Linked DNA regions of Homo sapiens: regions 1, 2, 3, 4 and 5 are each linked to region 6. The links are contacts of gene promoters, found by promoter capture Hi-C in human tissues and cell types (Jung and others, 2019). All regions are on one chromosome and are shown on one strand. The core of a region is centred on a gene start or on the middle of the fragment in contact, and the rest is flanking DNA. Distances in the headings are between cores, read along the strand shown. Region 1 overlaps GNAQ (G protein subunit alpha q). Region 2 overlaps GNAQ (G protein subunit alpha q). Region 3 overlaps GNAQ (G protein subunit alpha q). Region 4 overlaps GNAQ (G protein subunit alpha q). Region 5 overlaps GNAQ (G protein subunit alpha q). Region 6 holds the start of PSAT1 (phosphoserine aminotransferase 1).

Region 1 (3,197 bases), core at 577-3,076, 410 kb after region 6:
CTGAATTATATTACAATTTTAAACCTTAAGGGGAAGGCTTTTATTTTTATATCAGCATTTATTGAATTTGAATGTAGTTTCAACAAAAGACAAATTTTCATGTTGATAATAACACTTTTTTTTTTTTTGGTCCTTGTTCTTGTTCTTTCTCTTCCTAGTTTTCTCTTTCAATCTCATTAAAAAAAAAAGTTTTAGGGAAATGTAAGTTGTCCAAAATTATGAGTGATTTTTAGTGAATTTGGAAAGAGGCTTTTCTTTCCATCCGTACTGAGACAGTAACCTCAGATTTGGGGCCTGGTATTTCAAACTCTTAAAAGCAAAGGATTGTTTTTGTGGGCTGTAAATGTAGAATGCTGTAGCTACTGGGAAAGTTAAACAGAAATCTAATTTATACTTTTCTCCCTTTCTGAACTCAGTTGCTAAAGCACAGTTAACTCTCAGAGAGTTGTGCTGGACAGGGCCGACCCTGTTGGTATGTGTTTGCTTTTTTCTCCCCTTAACAAATAGAAAGAAAATAGTTCATTAAAACCTACTACCCTCACTTTTCAGCAAAGCTCACTTAGAATTCCAGTTTGTTCTTGGAGTTTTGCTTGCATCCTCATTTTCACCTGGCTGTGTGCCTGGCTGGTCTCAGCCTTCCCCGGCTCCTTGAGCTTGCTGACTTCCTGAGCTTGAGTAGAGTTTAGGCCTCTGTCAGGGTACTCCTGCATGATGAGGCACTGGGAGGTTCCAAAAAAGACCACAACTTTGGGCACATTTCTTCATTGCCCTTACCTCTGGTTTTCTTAGCTACAAAATGAAGGTATGGGACAAATATCTCTAAAACCCATCCGAAACTCTGTTATTACTGTAACAGTAATAGTCCCTGACTTTGGACAGCTTGGTATAGGCCAGGAATCTGTGTAGTCTTATTTAGTCTTTAGAAACCCAGCAGGTGGGTTCCATTATTTTCTCCATTTTACAGATAAAGCTTTGAGAAATGGGTGTATTTCCGCAAGATCACAAAGCTACAAAGGAGAATAGTACTTTCTTTTCAAAATCTCCCTCTCTGAACTCTGACACCTACAAGGGATTGCTGATTCTTGACCAGTTTCTTAACTCACAGTGCCCTTGGGGCATTGACCTCTCCCAGGTAAAATGAGACATTTATAGTTAAGGGAATGCTGATTGAAACTTAGACTATGATGGGGTAGATGGGTGTACTGAGATGCAAACTATGCTTCCCGAGTGAACAGCCACAGCCTGTCCTCCTTAGGAAAGAATGACCTTATTAAGAGCAGCCACCAATGATGACAACAGGTATAGGTGGAGTTTTAGCTTCAGTTTGAGGGGGTGGGGTGGAGAACTTATTCTCCAGGCATCTCTGGCTTTGCAGCTAGGATTCCTAACTCAGATTCCTAACTCCTTATTCACCATTATGGGAAGTCGCACTTTTGTTGCAGCTTGCTTCGTTCATTGTTTTCTTTCATGCTTTAAAATTTTTTCCCGCTTGAAATAAGCCTTCTTTTGGTTTCCTAATAGTCGTTTGCATTTTCTCTTCCTCTGAAATATAGCAGAACAGAGAAGTCAGGCAAAATGGCCAGCAGACTGATTAGAGACAACTGGCACATAGTGGTCCTCAAGGCAGCTGGCTCAGCAGGCAGATTGGATTAGAACAAGCCTTCACACCCCCACAGGGGCTTGCCAGAAGCAAGTGCTGGAGGAGTCACCTACACAGCTTCAGAGAGAATCTTTTTTCCCCTCCCAGTTCCAACCCTGAGAGTGTTTCTGAAGCTATAGAAATGCTAGTAGCTCTGAGCATCTTCTTGGGCTGGCTGTCTCTTTTTGTCAGTTGTTGCATTATTTGCTTCTCACCCAGAGCAGCCACCCATCCTGAGATTTTATCTGCAGTTAGAGAATTCTCCCTCCATTTCTGTTTTGAGGGCATACTTGTTGGTCAAAGACATCCTCTTGTCTTCAGTTAAACCTGTTTTTCTGAAATACCAAAATCTTGAGAAGAATTTGAGAGCCTGTGACAGTGTTAAATAAACTTGGCAGTTTCTACTTCATGAATTATCAAAACTACTTTGGTGGGCAATGAACAGGGAACAGAGACTAGACAGTTTGGATTTGGAGTAAGTGGAGGAAGCAAAGATAGGGTGTGACCACATGGGACAGAGCACATTTTCCTAGAGACCAAAAACTCTGATTGTACCCTGGTCCACAGACTCAGTGCAGAAGCAGGTATATTAAAACCCAAGCCTTATAATAGATACTGGGAATGCCAAAAGCGAGGAGAGTGGGGGCGGGGGCAAGGGTTGAAAAATTACCTATAGGTTCAATGTTCACTAGCTGGGGAATGGATACACTAGAAGCCCAGTCCCCGCCAGTATGCCATATACCCATGTAAAAACATGCACATGTACTGCCTGAGTCTAAAATTAAAACAACAACAACACAGAACCTAAGGTTTGGAAAAAAAAAAAAAAAACTACCCCCTTTTTTCTCTGTCAGAAGTAACCACTGTTCCTCAGCCTACCTAGAAAAGCACTCTACTCTGATTCATAAGTTTCTTTTCTCTAAATCAGGCAATGAGAATGAAGGTACATGAGGTGTCTGGATGTTTTTGATGCTGCTGTAACCATCTGGAGACTCTCATATAGGGCACAGTGTCACTTCCCTGGCCACTGGCAGAGGCTAGGCTAGCTGGGGACACACTGGAGAGAGTCAGGGTAAAGACTTATTTATAGAGAGAAATGGAGAGATGGGACATCAGTTATATTTCAGTTAACTGCTGGAACATGTCCCTACTTAAACTTCCAGCGACTATGTTTTTCCCCGTAACTTAAACAATTTATTTCACTAATCACATCTGTTCTCTTGTAAGATGGTTTCTTGGGTTAGTAAGCTGTGAACTGAAGTGTTTGCATTTTGATTTTAAGAATTTGCTTTTTTTCTCAGAAGGGTGCTAACTCTTTTAGACATGGCTTTGATATATGTGTTTGGTAACAACAATAGACTTATTGGTATGGAAATCATGAGAATAAGTTAAATGCTCAGATAGTTTCCCTCAGAAACAGTAACATATTCCTGTGTATCTCATCTGCACAAAGGCACTTTAAAAATAGTTTATTACAAAAATAATTTAGACAATACAGACAAGTGAAAACGAAAAAAAAAATCCCATCAAGTGTCATTTCCTGATAGGCTTGTGAATA
Region 2 (3,232 bases), core at 573-3,072, 330 kb after region 6:
TTTCCCCATGTTGGCCAGGCTGGTCTCGAACTCCTCAGGTGATCGATCCACCCGCCTCGGCCTCCCAAAGTGCTGTGATTACAGGTGTGAGCTACCGTAACTGGCCAGTAAATGAAATCTTGTCCTTTTATTTATATGGGTCCTACGTTTCCTGTTAAATTTATTCCTAGTTATTTTATATTTTGTTTTTGATTGTTGTAGTGAATAGACTTCTTAAATTGTATCTTGTAACTAGTACTTACTTATTATGGAAAAGCTGTTGGGTTTTTCACATTTATTAGTGGGCTTATGAAGCCCATTTACTGAATTGCCTGAAAATGGAACCGATGTTACTTGCATTTGTTTTGTGAACAAAGGAAAAAAAAACAGTATGAGAAACTTATATTTTAATTTTATTCTCTGTTAGACTCTACAGTGCATCCTGGGTCCCTCTTTTTACTCACTGTTGTGTCCCTAGTACCTGCCTCAGGATTTGCCATGGTGCGTGCACGATTAATATTTGTAGAATATTTCTTAACTTTCTTAATTCTATAATAGTTTTTTCTCTTGGGTTTTTTAAAGAAAAGCAATTATATCATCCCCAAATACTAATGATTTTGTTTCTAGTATTTTTTTTTCATTTTAATTGTTATTATTTTGGCTAGAACTTTCCTTGTAATATTCAATGATAGTCACCCTGTTGCAGATGACACGATTGTACATTTAGAAAACCCCATCATCTCAGCCCAAAATCTCCTTAAGCTGATAAGCAACTTCACCAAAGTCTCAGGATACAAAATCAGTGTGCAAAAATCACAAGCATTCCTATACACCAATAACACACAAACAGAGAGTCAAGTCATGAGTGAACTCCCATTCACAATTGCTACTAAGAGAATAAATACCTAGGAATACAACATACAACTTACAAGGGATGTGAAGGACCTCTTCAAGGAGAACTACAAACCACTGCTCAGGAATAAGAGAGGACACAAACAAATGGAAAAACATTCCATGCCCTTGCCAGAACTTCCAATACTATATTGAATAGGAGTGGTGAGAGAGGGCATTCTTGTCTTATGCCGGTTTTCAAAGGTAATGCTTCCAGTTTTTGCCCATTCAGTATGATATTGGCGGTGTGTCTGTCATAAATAGCTCTTATTATTTTGAGATACGTTCCATTGATACCTAGTTTATTGAGAGTTTTTAGCATGAAATGCTGTTGAATTTTGTCGAAGGCCTTTTCTGCATCTATTGAGACGATCATGTGGTTTTTGTCGTTGGTTCTGTTCATGTGATGGATTACGTTTATTGATTTGCGTATGTTGAACCAGCCTTGCATCCCAGGGATGAAGCCATCTTAATTGTGGTAGATAAGCTTTTTGATGTGCTGCTGGATTTGGTTTGCCAGTATTTTATTGAGGATTTTTGCATCGATGTTCATCAGGGATATTGGCCTAAAATTCTCTTTTTTTGTTGTGTCTCTGCTAGGCTTTGGTGTCAGGATGATGCTGGCCTCATAAAATGAGTTCGGGTGGATTCCCTCTTTTTCTGTTGATTGAAATAGTTTCGGAAGGAATGGTATCAGCTCCTCTTTGTACCTCTGGTAGAATTCGGCTGTGAATCCGTCTGGTCCTAGACTTCTTTTTGGTTGGTATGCTATTAATTATTGCCTCAATTTCAGAACCTGTTATTGGTCTATTCAGGGATTCAACTTCTTCCTGGTTTAGTCTTGGGAGGGTGTGTGTATCCAGGAATTTATCCATTTCTTTTAGACTTTCTAGTTTATTTGTGTAGAGGGGTTTATGGTATTCTCTGATGGTGGTTTGTATTTCTGTGGGATCGGTGGTGATATCCCCTTTATCATTTTTTGTTGCATCGATTTGGTTCTTCTCTCTTTTCTTCTTTATTAGGGGTCTATTTTGTTGATCTTTTCAAAAAACCAGCTCCTGGATTCATTGATTTTTTTTGAAAGGTTTTTTATGTCTGTATCTCCTTCAGTTCTGCTCTGATCTTAATTATTTCTTGTCTTCTGCTAGCTTTTGAATTTGTTTTCTCTTGAGTCTATGGTTCTTTTAATTGTGATGTTACGGTGTTGATTTTAGATCTTTCCTGCTTTCTCTTGTGGGCATTTAGTGCTATAAATTTCCCTCTACACACTGCATTAAATGTGTCCCAGAGATTCTGGTACGCTGTGTCTTTGTTCTCATTGGTTTCAAAGAACATCTTTATTTCTCCCTTCAAATCTTAGTCTATGTTTTTAAAGTTAATGTTTTAAGGATGAATAGGCAGAATGGGAAGAGGACTGCCCCTGCCTTCAACCCCAGATTTTGATTATAGCCCACCATACTGCCTTTGAAAAGCCATAGGTGCCTCTCTTCCTGATGTGTGTGTGCAGTTGGGCCGTTGGTAACTTTTTGATAACACTGAATCAAGTTGGGAAGAAAACTTGTGTCCAGGGCAGATGTGATGCAGGTTTGCAATGTGGAACTGAGCAGGAGCACGGGGCAGAGTAGAGAGGAGGAGTTTGTGACTCAGTCAGTTTTTTTTGTTTGTTTGTTTGTTTTTTTTTTTTTGTGGAGATGGAGTCTTGCTCTGTTGCCTAGGCTGGAGTGGAGTGGCATAAATCTGGGCTCACTGCAACCTCCATCTCCCGGGTTCAAGCGATTCTTCTGTCTCAGCCTCCCAAGTAGCTGGGATTACAGGCGTGCACCACTGCACCTGGCTAATTTTTGTGTTTTTGGTAGAGACAGCGTTTCACCATGTTGACGAGGCTGGTATCAAACTCCTGACCTCAGGTGATCTGCCCGCCTCTGCCTCCCAGAGTGCTGGGATTACAGGCATAAGCCATCACTTTCGTAACAAGGTTCAGATCTTTGGCTCATGAAGTTGCTCATGAAGAATTTGGTGGTGAGTTAGAGAAATGGGTACTGGTCTCTGTGTCTACGGAATGCATGCCTGAAATTAAGACAACACTTTGCTCCTTTTGCCTTACATTTAGTAGGCATGCATTACATGCCTGATGGATATATGAATTTGATGCCTTCACATATTTAAAGAAAGAGCTGCCCCCAATTTCCTGGAAAATCCATAGTGTTGAACTGTTGATGTGGCTAGAAAGTAAGCTGGGTTGTTTTCCAGTGCTCTTCAAACTACTGAAGATTTTGCTGTGCGATATTTAAAACTGTTAGTGTATTAGTAAAATTCATAGTATGTACTTATATAAAACATACATTAGTATAATCTGTATTAT
Region 3 (2,973 bases), core at 117-2,616, 350 kb after region 6:
TGGTAACAAAGCAGTGTGGAATTTAAGAAATCTCTCTCTCTCTTTTTTTTTAAACTACTTATTTTCTTACTTTTTGAGTAAAGCAACTTTATAGCTACTTCATATCTGTTTCAAGTGCTACATTTTCAAAGCTGGCAAATAGATTTACCTCTTTTGTGAAGGTGCCACATTAAACACTTAAAAGAAGAAAATCAGCCTTATCTGATGGATGATCCCCAGTTAATAGCCCAAGAACCAATTTGTATTTGGCTTTGCGATGTGTTTTTCTACTTACATTTGAGTATGGGTGTGCCTGATATTCTCGGAATTTACAATACTTCAAACAAATAAGGAAGTTGCACTGTGAAGACAGACTCAGAAGGAACTGGAAAGCTGACAGACCTTTGTGCTTCCCCAGCCGCCTTGCTGAATTCTCTGCGGTGGGTTGAGACCCCTGGTGTTCTTGGATGGGACAGCCCACATGAGCAGAGTGGCTCTCCCTTGTTTCCTTTGCTCTCTTTGGATTTATATCCTTCCAGAACTAGCTGTTTCGTAAAGTATTTAGACTCTGAATACCTGAATTATTCAGATCTTCTTGTCACTCCAATCACAAACAGGTAATTATGGAATCACAGCTGCTTTAAAGAGGCAGTGTGTCATCTTGTGTTCACTGAATATTTTACTGTACTTTACACAGTTAATTTCACACTGGGCAAGCTAAGTTAGTGTCAAAGTGGCAGACCAGATTTCTCTTGCGTTACAATGAGTGGCAGAGGTTGGAGCAATGCCTCAGTGGAAGAAATGGTGGTTCACAGAGTTATGTGAGGGGTCCCATGAACTTCCACCTACTCCCAAACATATTTTCTACTGGGCCTGACCAGAGGGGCCTCAGAGGTTGCTGAATGGTAAGTTTGGTGGAGGAGGGAATAGGAATGGTTTGGTTTCTGGTCTAAAGAGGATATATGGGGTGAGGCGGCTTGATGGTGCAAGGATGATTGAGTGTTTTAAATGAATGGTTTAAGTGACAACCTGCATCTTGTATACACAGCTTCATAAAACAGCCTCTATTGGTTGTTTGATGGAGCCAGGTGATCTGGTATGGCGGAAGATTTGTGAGCCCCACTGGAATAATTCTAAAATGCTTTTATTATAGTTTTTGATTATGAAAGTAATTTATTTTCAAATGTACCAGATTTTTGAAATACTGAAAAGATTAAGAAAAAAAGTACTAGTATTGCCATTAGCCAGATATCCTATTGTTAATATTATGTATGTATTCTGAATGAATCAGTAGATTTTGAACAGGTATCATTCGTTCATACTGCCTGCCTGTTTTCTCTTCTAATATATGAGGAACATATTTTCTCACTATTGAATGTTCTTCTAAAGCAGTATTCTGGTAGTTGCCTAACACCACATGGGACAATTTTAAAATAAGAAGTCACTGGCTAGGCACTGTGTCTCACGCCTGTAATCCCAGCACCTTGGGAGGCTGAGGTGGGTGGATCACCTGAGGTAGGGAGTTGGAGACCAGCCTGGCCATCATGGCAAAACCACATCTCTACTAAAAATACAACAATTAGCCAGGCGTGGTGTTGTGTACCTGTAAATCCCAGCTACTCTTGGGAGGCTGAGGCAGGAGAATTGCTTGAACCCAGGAGGCAGAGGTTGCAGTGAGCCAAGATCACGCCACTGCACTCCAGCCTGGGCAACAGAGCAAGACGTCGTCTCAAAAAAAAAAAAAAAAAAAAAGTTAGTTACTTCCAGGATAAAGGTACTTTATTTTTTTTTCCAATTTGTGTAGTAGAGGAAATCAAGCTTTAATTAAGAGTGGTCTCACATGAATGTGCATACTAGAGATTTATATCATTATAGAAAGAGAAGACACTTTTGAGTTTATCCAGTCTGACTCTTGTAAATATGGGAGAATTGTGACCCATATTATTCCTGTGACTACTGAAAGTCAAACATTTTAATCGCAGAAAAGGGACTAACATTCCCAGTGTTCTTGCCCGTGTCATGTTACATTTGCAAATCTGTTACAACATATTTTTCCTTTTCTCAAGACACGTCGAACATGTGTCAGTATATACTGTAGTTAATATCTCTTAAGTTTCTTTTGTGGTTTGTAGCTTGGCTTTAAAATGATCTTGAGGCTCAAATTTGACTCAGGAACCAAAACCCCTGAGGGGAGCCCTTTCCTTGGTTCCCTGGGTTAGAATAATCTTCAAATCTATGTTGACCTGAGAGCTTTTGAGGTCAGAAATGGGTTCTGCAATGCCCAACATCTGCCTTGTGAGGTTATTAGTCTTATGTGCTAACTGGGACTAGTGGAACTTCTAAAAATAGTACTCTTTTTTCATGGATTTTGTTTCTATCCATTAAGAAGTCATCATTCCCAGCCCATTTAATGATAAATGAAAACCAGAAAGGTAAATTCACTCATTTACAGTCAAATAACCAGTTGGTTAATTATTGGATCCAAGTGCAGCAGATTTGCAAGGATTGCAAAGATTGCTTAAAATTTAATTTGTAAATGCTTGTTAGAAATTTGTAAAATACAGACAAAAAGATAATATAACCTGTATTTTTACAAGCCAGACACAGCTATTGATCATATTCTGGTAGATTTCAAGTGTCTTTATTTTTAAAAGTTTTCTACATGTGGATATTTGAAGGGGTGCAGTTGAGATAATTATGCATTACCCTTTTTTCTTTGATCCTCTACTGTGTTTAGGGTCCTGAGGTCAAGGACTATGAGGAATATATGTGGTGGGGTGTTGATTGATTTTCTACTTTTTGGTGAGTTTCCCAGGAAATCTATTGGGAATGCCTTATTATTTTTTGTTTCCATTGATTAGGACAAGGGTTACTAATGTAAAGGCTGTGGTTTTCATCCAGCATGCCAGTTCTGTTTCTGCTCTGTCCAGCCAACCATTTTGCAAGTATATCACAGTACTCACAAAGCAGAGTGATGGATCACTGCAGAATTAA
Region 4 (2,983 bases), core at 57-2,556, 390 kb after region 6:
TTTTCATTAGTACAAGCATGTATATCCAAACATGAATATCAGCAAGAAATGCACTTTAAAAAATGACTTTTTGTGTCATTTCATGTTATATTATGATACTTTTCCTTTCAGGAGAGAAAAAAATAAGCTCTTCATTAATAGCTGCAGTTACTCATTTTGGCTTTTCCCGTATAAATGTATACTTTTACCACCTTTATTTTCCTGATTTTATGTTTCTTAAAGTGAATTTGTTAAGAAGATACCTTTAAGTTGTTGCTACCACTTTGTAAGATGCATATGCAGTTGTTGTTTTTTTTTTTTTTACTATCTTGTGTTATTTGTTAAAACTGAAATGTAACTGAAAGGACTGGCATATATCAAGAAATGTGATATCCCCGCTGAGATGAGCAGTAGTATTGGATTGGCTGGTAGGTTATCTGCTTCTGTCAATGTGCACACTTCCTTTGTGGTAAAAAGTATAACGGTTTTGAACTAAAAAGAAGACTGTACTGAGTGTTGTCGATATTGGCCTCCCTGTGAGGTGGTGAAACGTCCTTAAAAACAGTGCTTCTGTGGTAAGAGTTCAGTTAATTAGGTGATTGTGTGTGCATTCTCTAAGGCACTAGCCTAGTCTTTCTTCTCTTGACCGTCTTCTAGCCATTTTACTATCTACTGGGCAGCTGGTGGATGGCAACAGGATGAGATCATGTAGCTGTTTGATTGTATTAATGGAACACTGCAGTCAAAGTACCTCACTAAAGTTGGGGATTAAAATACTTTTAGATTCACCTTTCAGTTGACCTTGATCCTTGGCATAAAATAATCAATACCATATGCTTTGTGGGTGGCGTGTATCAGTGTTGTGCAGTTTTTGCCAGCCATGGAGGAGAATGGTGGCCCAGAGGAAGGGGTGCCTTTTTCTCTCTACAGCACTCTCTTTTTGCCAGACTCTATAAACAGAAAGTGGAGAGGTGGGTACATTATTCTCATATGCACAGAAGTGCCACATATTCCAGTGATGACAGCTTTGGGTCTTCCTAACTGAATGTGAGGTTGAGAACATTGATTTTGTGTTCTAGAGTATTGCTTCTCGAACTTGAATATGTATACAAATCATGTGAGGCTCTCATTAAAATGCATATTTGTATTTCAGTAGATCCAGGGTGGGCCTGAGATTCTGCTTTCCTCACAAGCTGATGCTGAAGCAGCCCAAAGTAAAGGCCTCTTGGAAGTAACTGACTCTCTGCCACCAGAGGCAATATGAAATCACCAGTAGGCTACCTTTTGGAGAGAAGATCCCAGAAAATACTTCAATAGGATTTTGGCCATGAGACATTCAGCAAATTATTTAAACTCTCCATGCTATGCCTTGTCGGAAATGTGAGGAGATAATAGTATTCACTTTGTATGGTTAGTGTGAGCATTAATGACAATATATAGATGCAAAACTTTTGGGACAATAACATCAACATAGTCAGTGTCTACTAAATGGTTGTTGAATTCTTCCCAGAAAGTGCTAGGTCAGGAGAAATGTATATCTGTTTGGGGAAAGTGCACAGTATTTGAGAAGAAATTGCTTATTGTTTAAAGACATACAAGAGGCTATGATCCAAGAATGAGACTTGGGTTCCATGATCCGGTGCAACAGTGGTTTCTTGGGAGCAGTGGCTGGCCTCTGGTAGGATTTAAGGCATCAGAATGTCAATGAAAGTGGGGGCCCTTCTGAAGGGGTTCATGGATTTCTGTCACTGCTGAGATAAAGGAGTCTTAACTTTTTTCCCTTGACTGCAGGGTGTTTGTAAGGTAAGGAAGGAGGCAGATAGTCGAATAACGAAAGAGGCAAAGGGACAGAAGAAAAAGGGAGAGAAATAACTTTAGCCAACCACTTCTGGGCCTTTTTCATTTAATATGCTCCAAAATGTGAGGTAAGTAGTAGTGTTCTAATTCTACAGATGAAAAATGTTTAAAATACCTGCCCCAAATAACTCAATTTTTAAGTTTATGGGGCTGGATTAAGCCCAACCCAGAATTAGGCTTAATTCCCTAAAGGCAGCTCGTATACTTGACTCCATAAACACCTTTGGCACCTAGGACACATGTATTTAATTTTCTTGTGCAAAAGAGTAAATGCAGTTACCTGTGGCCACTCCAGCTGTCTTTCCACCACTTCAGCCAGCTAAAGTTACTGCCGTGTCCCCAGGACCTAGCAAAGGGCCTGACCCACAGTTAGGCTCAGTAAATACTATGGAATGAATGAGTCAGTATTTAATCAGAGAGCCGATTACATGATACCACTATTATTATGGATCTTTTAAACTTTTAACTCTGATACCACCTATTTGATTTCTCCTTCTTGACTGTACACTCCTTTTACTTGTTCTTTATGTTTTTTGTTAATCCACACACTTCACATCGACTTAAATAATTTTTAAAATGCCACCAAGTATTTTTCATTTCTCTTCGAGCCAGAGGAAGTGTAAGACATGTACTTTGCTTATGGGGACTTGCAGTCTCATTGGAGAGGCAAGATACTTAACAAAATTATTTAGTTCTTTAATGTGCAGTCAAGGCAGAGTTTCTATAGGAAAGCTCATATATTCTTTCTTTCTTTCCTTATTTCCCTTTCTTTGCCTCCTTTCCTGCTGTTCTGGGTTGGTGCATGTAGTGATGCATCTGGCAGTGCTGGGTGTTTGTCCATTTTCTGACCATTTCCCATGGCGATATCTTTGTTAGGAGCCAGGGAAGGCATCTTAATTACCACTGCAGTCTTGGGATAATGAAATGCACAACTCTATGAAAAACTTGGTCACAAATCAAGAAAGTGATTGGAAAGCTTATGCAGCAGAAAAATAACTTGCCCATGAATTATGAAACACCTCTGGTATGTGAACATAGCTGTACACTTGAAATTAAGAAGCTTGTTTCTATAAATACTAGATCCTTTTTTCTTTTTCTCAAATAGAAAAACATTTTATAAATATAAAGATAAATATGTTCATTGTAA
Region 5 (3,066 bases), core at 263-2,762, 280 kb after region 6:
GCTGGAGTGCAGTGGCGCTATCTCGGCTCACAGCAACCTCTGCTTCCCGGGTTCAAGCAATTCTCCTGCCTCAGCCTCCTAAGTAGCTGGGATTATAGGCATGCACCACCACACCCAGCTAATTTTTGTATTTTTAGTAGGGGGGTTTCACCATGTTGGTCGGGCTGGTCTCGTGATCTGCCCGTCTAGGCCTGCCAAAATGTTGGGATTACAGGAGTGAGCCACCACGCCTGGCCTAAAGTTTTTGTTTTTTTAAACCTCAGCCTGAGTGAATCTTTTCTTAAAATAGTTGAGTTTGTTCTTGTTACACTTGATGTATGATGAATAATGTTAGGGTGTATTGGCGTCTGATTTCTGTTTTCTGATTCTTTCTTGATTTCTTGCAGCTACCCCTATTCCTCCTCCATTATTTCCTTTTCTCTTTCTCACTCCTTTGGAATTTGTATTGGGTTTGTTGTGCTTTCCACACTGATAATTTGAAAGGTATGTACTCTGCTTTTAATTTTACTGTTGGTAGCCTATATAACTTTTAGTAGTCATATTCAATTTATGTTTCTCAGTTTATCATCTTCAGAGATCAAATGGTATTATATGTCCCTCCCCTGCATGGGAGGGAAATTTTTTTCACCTATACCAAGGATCATCAGCAAACTTTAAGGGTTAGATAGTAAACATTTTTGGCTTTTGGGCTATATGGCTTCTATTAGAACTACTCAACTCTGCCACAAACAGTTTGTTAATAAATGAGTATGGCTATGTTCAAATACAATTTTATTTACAAAAACAAACAGAAGCAGGATTTGGCATTCTGGCAGGTATTTGCCAACCTCTGATTACTCCATTTTCTGCTTTTTGTGGTATTTTATTTGCGTGTATTAACTTTTTTGTTCCTGTCTGTTATAGACAAATTAGCAATACCAGACTTAGAATGGTTCTCTAAGTCTTCGTGGTTAGTAATAACATCAACACATTTTATTTTATATATTTATTTTCTTAATAGTCTTCTCAGAGGCAACATTGGATATATAAAATGATAAAAGTCTTGTTAGAAATGAGAACACATGGACGCAGGAAGGGGAACATCACAAACCGGGGCCTGTTGTGGGGTGGGGGGAGCGGGGAGGGATAGCATTAGGAGATATACCTAATGTTAAATAACGAGTTAATGGGTGCAGCACACCAACACGGTACATGTATACATATGGAACTAACCTGCATGTTGTGCACATGTACCCTAAAACTTAAAGTATAATAAAAAAAAAAAAAGTCTTGTAAGAAAAACATAAAATTGTCAATGGCTAAGGGCATCTTTCTGAAGTCTAGGATTTATTGATGGTTATTAAAAGGCTAAGCATAAAATTGAAATTACCTTAATTTCAATATAATATGGGTATTTGTGTCAGATGGAAGGAGAGGTGTTTATGGTGTTCAGATCACTGCCACGTTCATTGCTCTAACTTACATTTCCTTTATTCTGTTCTTCCTCCTGATTACGGATTCCTAGCAATTCACCTATTTCTGCCCTCTTAATCCTGAAGTAGTTTACTCTTCTTTCCACTTACGCCCCCTTTCTTCACTGTCTTTTGTCCATCTCTGCTAGCATCAAGTTAATATTTGATCTTGCAGCCAATGTGATCTTTAATGTTTTGAAAGTGATTCTGTAGTAGTTTCTCAAATTTCATACCTAGAGTTTATTTATTTTCACACTTTCTAAAACTCTTAGCCCTTTGATTTCATATTGAATATCAGGGATGATCACAGGGAATCATTATAATTAAACCTAAGGAACCTCATTTAAGTATATTGTCATTTATCACTTATTCTGTTTTCCTTGAGAAATTGTGTACATATATGTATATATATATTTGTGTCTGCAATTAAGATGCATATTTAGCATTAGTTCTGTGTTTAAATGCTTATCACCAAATATTTCTTCTCTCAATTTAATTATATGCTTTTATTTATTTTTATCTATGAGTTGGCTAGATTATACCTTCAGATAGGTTTTTAAATGATGGGTCCATGGGTGATATATTTCCTGAATTCTTGGGTATTTGAAAATGCCTTTCCGAGGCCAGGTGAGGTGGTTTACACCTGTAATCCCAGCACTTTGGGAGGCCAAGGCGGGTGGATTACAAGGTCAGGAGTTCGAGACCAACCTGGCCAACATGGTGAAACTCTATCTGTATGGCGCGCACCTGTAATCCCAGCTACTTGCAAGGCTAAGGCAGGAGAGTCACTTGAACCTGGGAGGTGGAGGTTGCAGTGAGCTGAGATTGTGCCATTGCACTCCAGCCTGGGTGACAAGGTGAGACTCCGTCTCAAAAAAAAAAAAAAAAAGAAAATGCCTTTCTGTGGCATGCACATATTAATAACAACTTGCATGGGTATAGAATTCTTGGATTAGACCTCTTTTTTACCTACCTTGCTTGCCACGTAGTAGATTTTTCTCCATTGTTTCCCAGCAGATAGATTTGATAAGTCTGTGGCCAGCCTGAATATTTTTTCTTTGTGATTTGCTTTTTTAAAAATTTGGTTATTTGTTTCTATAACATGAAAGCTTAACAACGTATCCAGGTTATGCTTCAGTGTTTTATAATTTTTGTTATTTATCTTGAAGCACTGAACCCACTCCATCTCTATAATATTCTTTCATTTCAAGGATCTTGCCTATTTTATCATTGAATTTTTTTTAATATTCCACAGGAATTGTTTTTCTTCTTTAGGTACACCAATCATTCATAATTGAATTTTTGTTGTTTCTCTGCCAAAGCTGTTAGCTTCCCTCTAATTGCTGTATCTCTCCATTATTTGTGTGGTTTGCCCAAATCTCTTGTCTGCAATGCTGATTTGGCACTGTTTTGAATATCAATGTCAAGTGCCAGTAAGTAGGTGTTAAATGAATGAAGTACCTGCTATCTCTTTGATGCTTCAGATTCATTTTTAAGTTCTGCAGTATTATTGTTTTTTCTCCTTATTTCCTTTCTTAGTTCTGACAATTTTTGTTTCACCTTATTTTTTAGAATGTCCTATTTCAACAATGCACATTTTGTTACATTTTCTTGA
Region 6 (3,212 bases), core at 358-2,857:
TCCTGCCCCCCAGGTTACATGCAGTCCAAGGGCAAAAATCCTCCCAGAAAAATTAATAACAAATAATTGTATTACTGATGACAATTGCCATTACAATTATAGTAATAAATTAATAACGAAATACATAGGGAACAAACGTTGGGAACACTCCAAAACATGGGGGGTGCAGGAGGAGGCTACAGGAAACATCTCCACAGCTGGAGCAGGGAATCTCGCCTAAAATGAACTGTAACCACTGAGAAAAAATAAGCCCTGTCCTCTCAGCTACTGTGAGCGCTGCCCCTAGAAAAGTAAGAAGTCCTTTCCCCTTTAAAATTGGATTCTCTGTTCTTACCACAACACAGAGGAGGCTCTGTCCCAGGGAGATTTCTACTCTGCTCAACAATTGATAATTGTAAAATACTTGGCTATGCCTCATGCTGCTCCAACATATTATCAGCTCTATCCTGGTTAGAAAAATAAAAATCTAACGGCGGCGGCAGCCGCCTGACAATGGGCTCAAGGCACATCGGAGACTTTGCCTTCTTCACTGCGGGTGGGGCTGGGGACGGTGGGTTTGGCGGGGGAGGGGAGGAGCCGGGCTGGGGCCTGGGAAGGCAGAGAGTGAGTTCCACCAGCAAGATCTGATTGTGGCCCGGGAGAGAATTCAATCACTCGGTTTACTCCAGAACGAAATGAACAGGGAATTGGGTTAAGCAGCCCAAAGTCTACCAGAGTTAGAATACTCGAACGCCTTTAGGGGACAAGCAGGTTAAAAAAAGGAGGGGGGTGGGGAGAAAGGCTTTAGGAAAGGGTAGGTTCTATGGGGGACAAGGAGGGGAAAGCTGGACTGAAGGTTTTCAAATTTACATTTCTGAAAAGCAGTGTTCCTAAGTGCTGGCTAAAGCAAACACTGGTGTAAGGCGTAGGGGGGCACGCACACGCGGACCTTTAAGTTTGCAATCCCTTTCAGCTAACGTGATCCACTGCATATGCAAAACCTGTCATCGGTTCATTCCCGTTCATCACTCATTCACACTATGTCCATTCATGCATCCGCTCCACACTGCCCGGGCTCGCCGCACAGCTGCGCGAGGCGAAGGCAGAGATCAGAGCTTTTTCTTTTTCGCCCCGCCCCAGCCCCCGGACCGGCCCAGGAGATGGCACAGCCCGGGCGTCTGCAGGTGCGTGGCACCGGCGGGACAGCAGGCCCCGGCCAGCTGAGTCGTGCACTGCCTCGCACCAGCAGTCAGGGCCAGGGGCAGCTGCACGGGCACGCCTCGCCGAGCTTCCTCACCAACTGCATTCTTCCCGAAGCCCGCTTGCCGGAGCTGCTGATCCCGCTGTGCACGCTGATGCAAAGCGCCTAGGGGACTCAAGGCAGGGAGCGGGAATCCGACTGCCACACGCAGGGATGCAAACCCACCCGCGTGCGTGCTCCCGCCTGAACCTCACTCCCGGCGCCCGCTCGCGGGGACTTACTGAGTGCGGCAGCTTGGCGGGACCAGGCCCAAAGTTGACCACCTGCCTGGGGGCGTCCATGGTGCGGCGGCCAGGGCGGTGAGTCAGCCAAGGAGGACCGAACGCGTGAACGGCTGGCGTTCCTGGCCGCTGCGGTGAGAGTCTGCAGCCGGCCCCGAACCCCCGCCTTGTTCCTGCGCCGAGTCGGCGCCCCATTGGCCCGTGCTGTCGCAGGCCCTGCGCTAATTGGTTCGCGCGAAGGAGCTCACATCCCCATTGGTCGCGCTTCTGAGCCGAGTCGAAGCAGTTGCTCCTCCTCGCGTTTACTGTTTCAACCCCCATTTTTGATCAATGCAAGGAGCGCGCGAGATTGCGCCAGCCAGCCGAGCCGGCTCGGCTGCGCGCCCGCCCGAGGATTGTGGGCGGCGGGAAGAGGCTGCCCCTGCCAACCTGCCTTCGCCCCTTGAGCCCGCAATCTGGCCGGTTCCAGTCCTCCAACCCCAGAGGACCTCAGCTCCTCTCTCTTGGCTGAAAGGGCAGTTGCCGAGCAGATTTGTAGCCCCCATCCACCCACCTCTCCACCACCAGCCCCCAGTTTGGGCTGTGATGTATTTGTTCCAGAACCACCAGTCACTAATCTACCAAACTTTTCTAAGCACCCCCCACGGGCGTCAGATACCCCAGTGGAGAGAGAGGACCCCCCCAAGGTTGGAAGCGCAGGATGAAGAAGGGCCGGGGGTGGGTGGATACGGTTCTTTGTATTTGCACGTGGGTCCTGAGTTCCTGCAGGATTAAAGAACGGAGGTGGCCAAGGACGCAGGGAGGAGCGATAGCCTGGGAAGCGTGGATGCCCGCCAGGCAAGTCCTTTAAAGTCGCTGATTCTCCATTTCCTCCTTTGGGAAACGAGTGAGCTGGAAACCTGCGACAGCTCTCAGGTTGCGCCCGCGCTGACAAGCTGTGAGTTTAGAAACGTGAGGAGATATTAACAAGAACGCGATACCCATAGGGCGCTGCAGCCCAAACCAGAAGAAGGTGGCCCCTAGCCAGGCCAGGCGCAGGGCCAGAGCTGCTCAAACTTTTCCACAGAAGTGTCCTTCTCAAAAGAACTCCAGTGGAGACCCGCATGGGGTTCTGAAACAGAATACCCTCCCCCTACCCTGCAAGAAAGAAGTTCCTTTGAAGTCTGGAATTTCATCATTTTTAAACTGTGAATTTTGCATTCTCTACCATAATTTAACCTAGTTTCTTTTAATGTAAAAATATTTTCCCTGTCTGAGTAAAATTGATGCGCCAGGAATATATACAGTCCAACTGCCCCGTTTAGAGAAGGCTTGTAACTGGACAGGACTTTGGCTTTTGTTTGCTTTTCCTAATGAGAATGTGGGCGGTATGGGGCTGAGAGCAGAGGCACTGCTCTGGATCTGGGAATTGGAGGACAAAGTTTCCAGAAAAAGGCAAAATGAACAAGGCCCCTGCGTTCCTCAGCAACTTCATTAAGAAAACCGCGACATTCAAGACAGAATAAATCTCAGCCCAGAAACTCAGGCATGCAAGAAGCATCACATATCCATTATTTTACGTAAATAACTCAGTTATTATATATTAGTAGCTGCCCCTAGCAGCTTATCTACTGGAGACTAAGGGAGTCAGCCTTCATCCTTCCTGGAGTTAGTTCCTAACACCAGGGCTATACACAGTCCCATGTAGTGGGTTGGGAGAAGGGACAGCACATCCATTTGGTCCTCTGTTCCCAAAAGATATGGCTGAGTTG

Evidence for each region. The method cuts DNA at HindIII sites, captures the fragments that hold promoters and counts their contacts. A contact is called where the count stands out against the background at its distance.
Region 1: a fragment that was not itself captured here is called in contact with the fragment with the promoter of PSAT1 in region 6 in 1 of the 25 tissues and cell types used here (aorta).
Region 2: a contact is called between a fragment that was not itself captured here and the fragment with the promoter of PSAT1 in region 6, in 1 of the 25 tissues and cell types used here (hippocampus).
Region 3: a contact is called between a fragment that was not itself captured here and the fragment with the promoter of PSAT1 in region 6, in 1 of the 25 tissues and cell types used here (adrenal gland).
Region 4: a fragment that was not itself captured here is called in contact with the fragment with the promoter of PSAT1 in region 6 in 1 of the 25 tissues and cell types used here (hippocampus).
Region 5: a fragment that was not itself captured here is called in contact with the fragment with the promoter of PSAT1 in region 6 in 1 of the 25 tissues and cell types used here (hippocampus).

What each region holds. Positions count from the first base shown.
Region 1 is chr9:77,882,732-77,885,928 of GRCh38, reverse strand. The region is part of intron 2 of GNAQ (G protein subunit alpha q); the gene reads left to right. Among named protein-coding and RNA genes, the nearest start is that of GNAQ, 150 kb to the left of the region's middle. The HindIII fragment of the contact is 5,721 bases long and covers 1-3,197 here.
Region 2 is chr9:77,969,546-77,972,777 of GRCh38, reverse strand. The region is part of intron 1 of GNAQ (G protein subunit alpha q); the gene reads left to right. Among named protein-coding and RNA genes, the nearest start is that of GNAQ, 61 kb to the left of the region's middle. The HindIII fragment of the contact is 6,234 bases long and covers 1-3,232 here.
Region 3 is chr9:77,942,419-77,945,391 of GRCh38, reverse strand. All of the region lies in intron 1 of GNAQ (G protein subunit alpha q), which reads left to right. Among named protein-coding and RNA genes, the nearest start is that of GNAQ, 88 kb to the left of the region's middle. The HindIII fragment of the contact is 3,237 bases long and covers 1-2,973 here.
Region 4 is chr9:77,907,003-77,909,985 of GRCh38, reverse strand. The region is part of intron 2 of GNAQ (G protein subunit alpha q); the gene reads left to right. LOC107987081 (a long non-coding RNA gene) reads left to right here. Exons shown (of 2, transcript XR_001746758.3): 2 at 1-2,983. Among named protein-coding and RNA genes, the nearest start is that of GNAQ, 120 kb to the left of the region's middle. The HindIII fragment of the contact is 4,825 bases long and covers 1-2,983 here.
Region 5 is chr9:78,011,513-78,014,578 of GRCh38, reverse strand. All of the region lies in intron 1 of GNAQ (G protein subunit alpha q), which reads left to right. Among named protein-coding and RNA genes, the nearest start is that of GNAQ, 19 kb to the left of the region's middle. RefSeq lists a silencer at 2,096-2,248. The HindIII fragment of the contact is 6,830 bases long and covers 1-3,066 here.
Region 6 is chr9:78,295,520-78,298,731 of GRCh38, reverse strand. It overlaps PSAT1 (phosphoserine aminotransferase 1), which reads right to left and starts at 1,607. Exons shown (of 9, transcript NM_058179.4): 1 at 1,462-1,607. The coding sequence starts at 1,521. RefSeq lists a silencer at 1,002-1,241 and enhancers at 1,194-1,777, 1,778-2,361, 2,252-2,521. The HindIII fragment of the contact is 7,295 bases long and covers 1-3,212 here.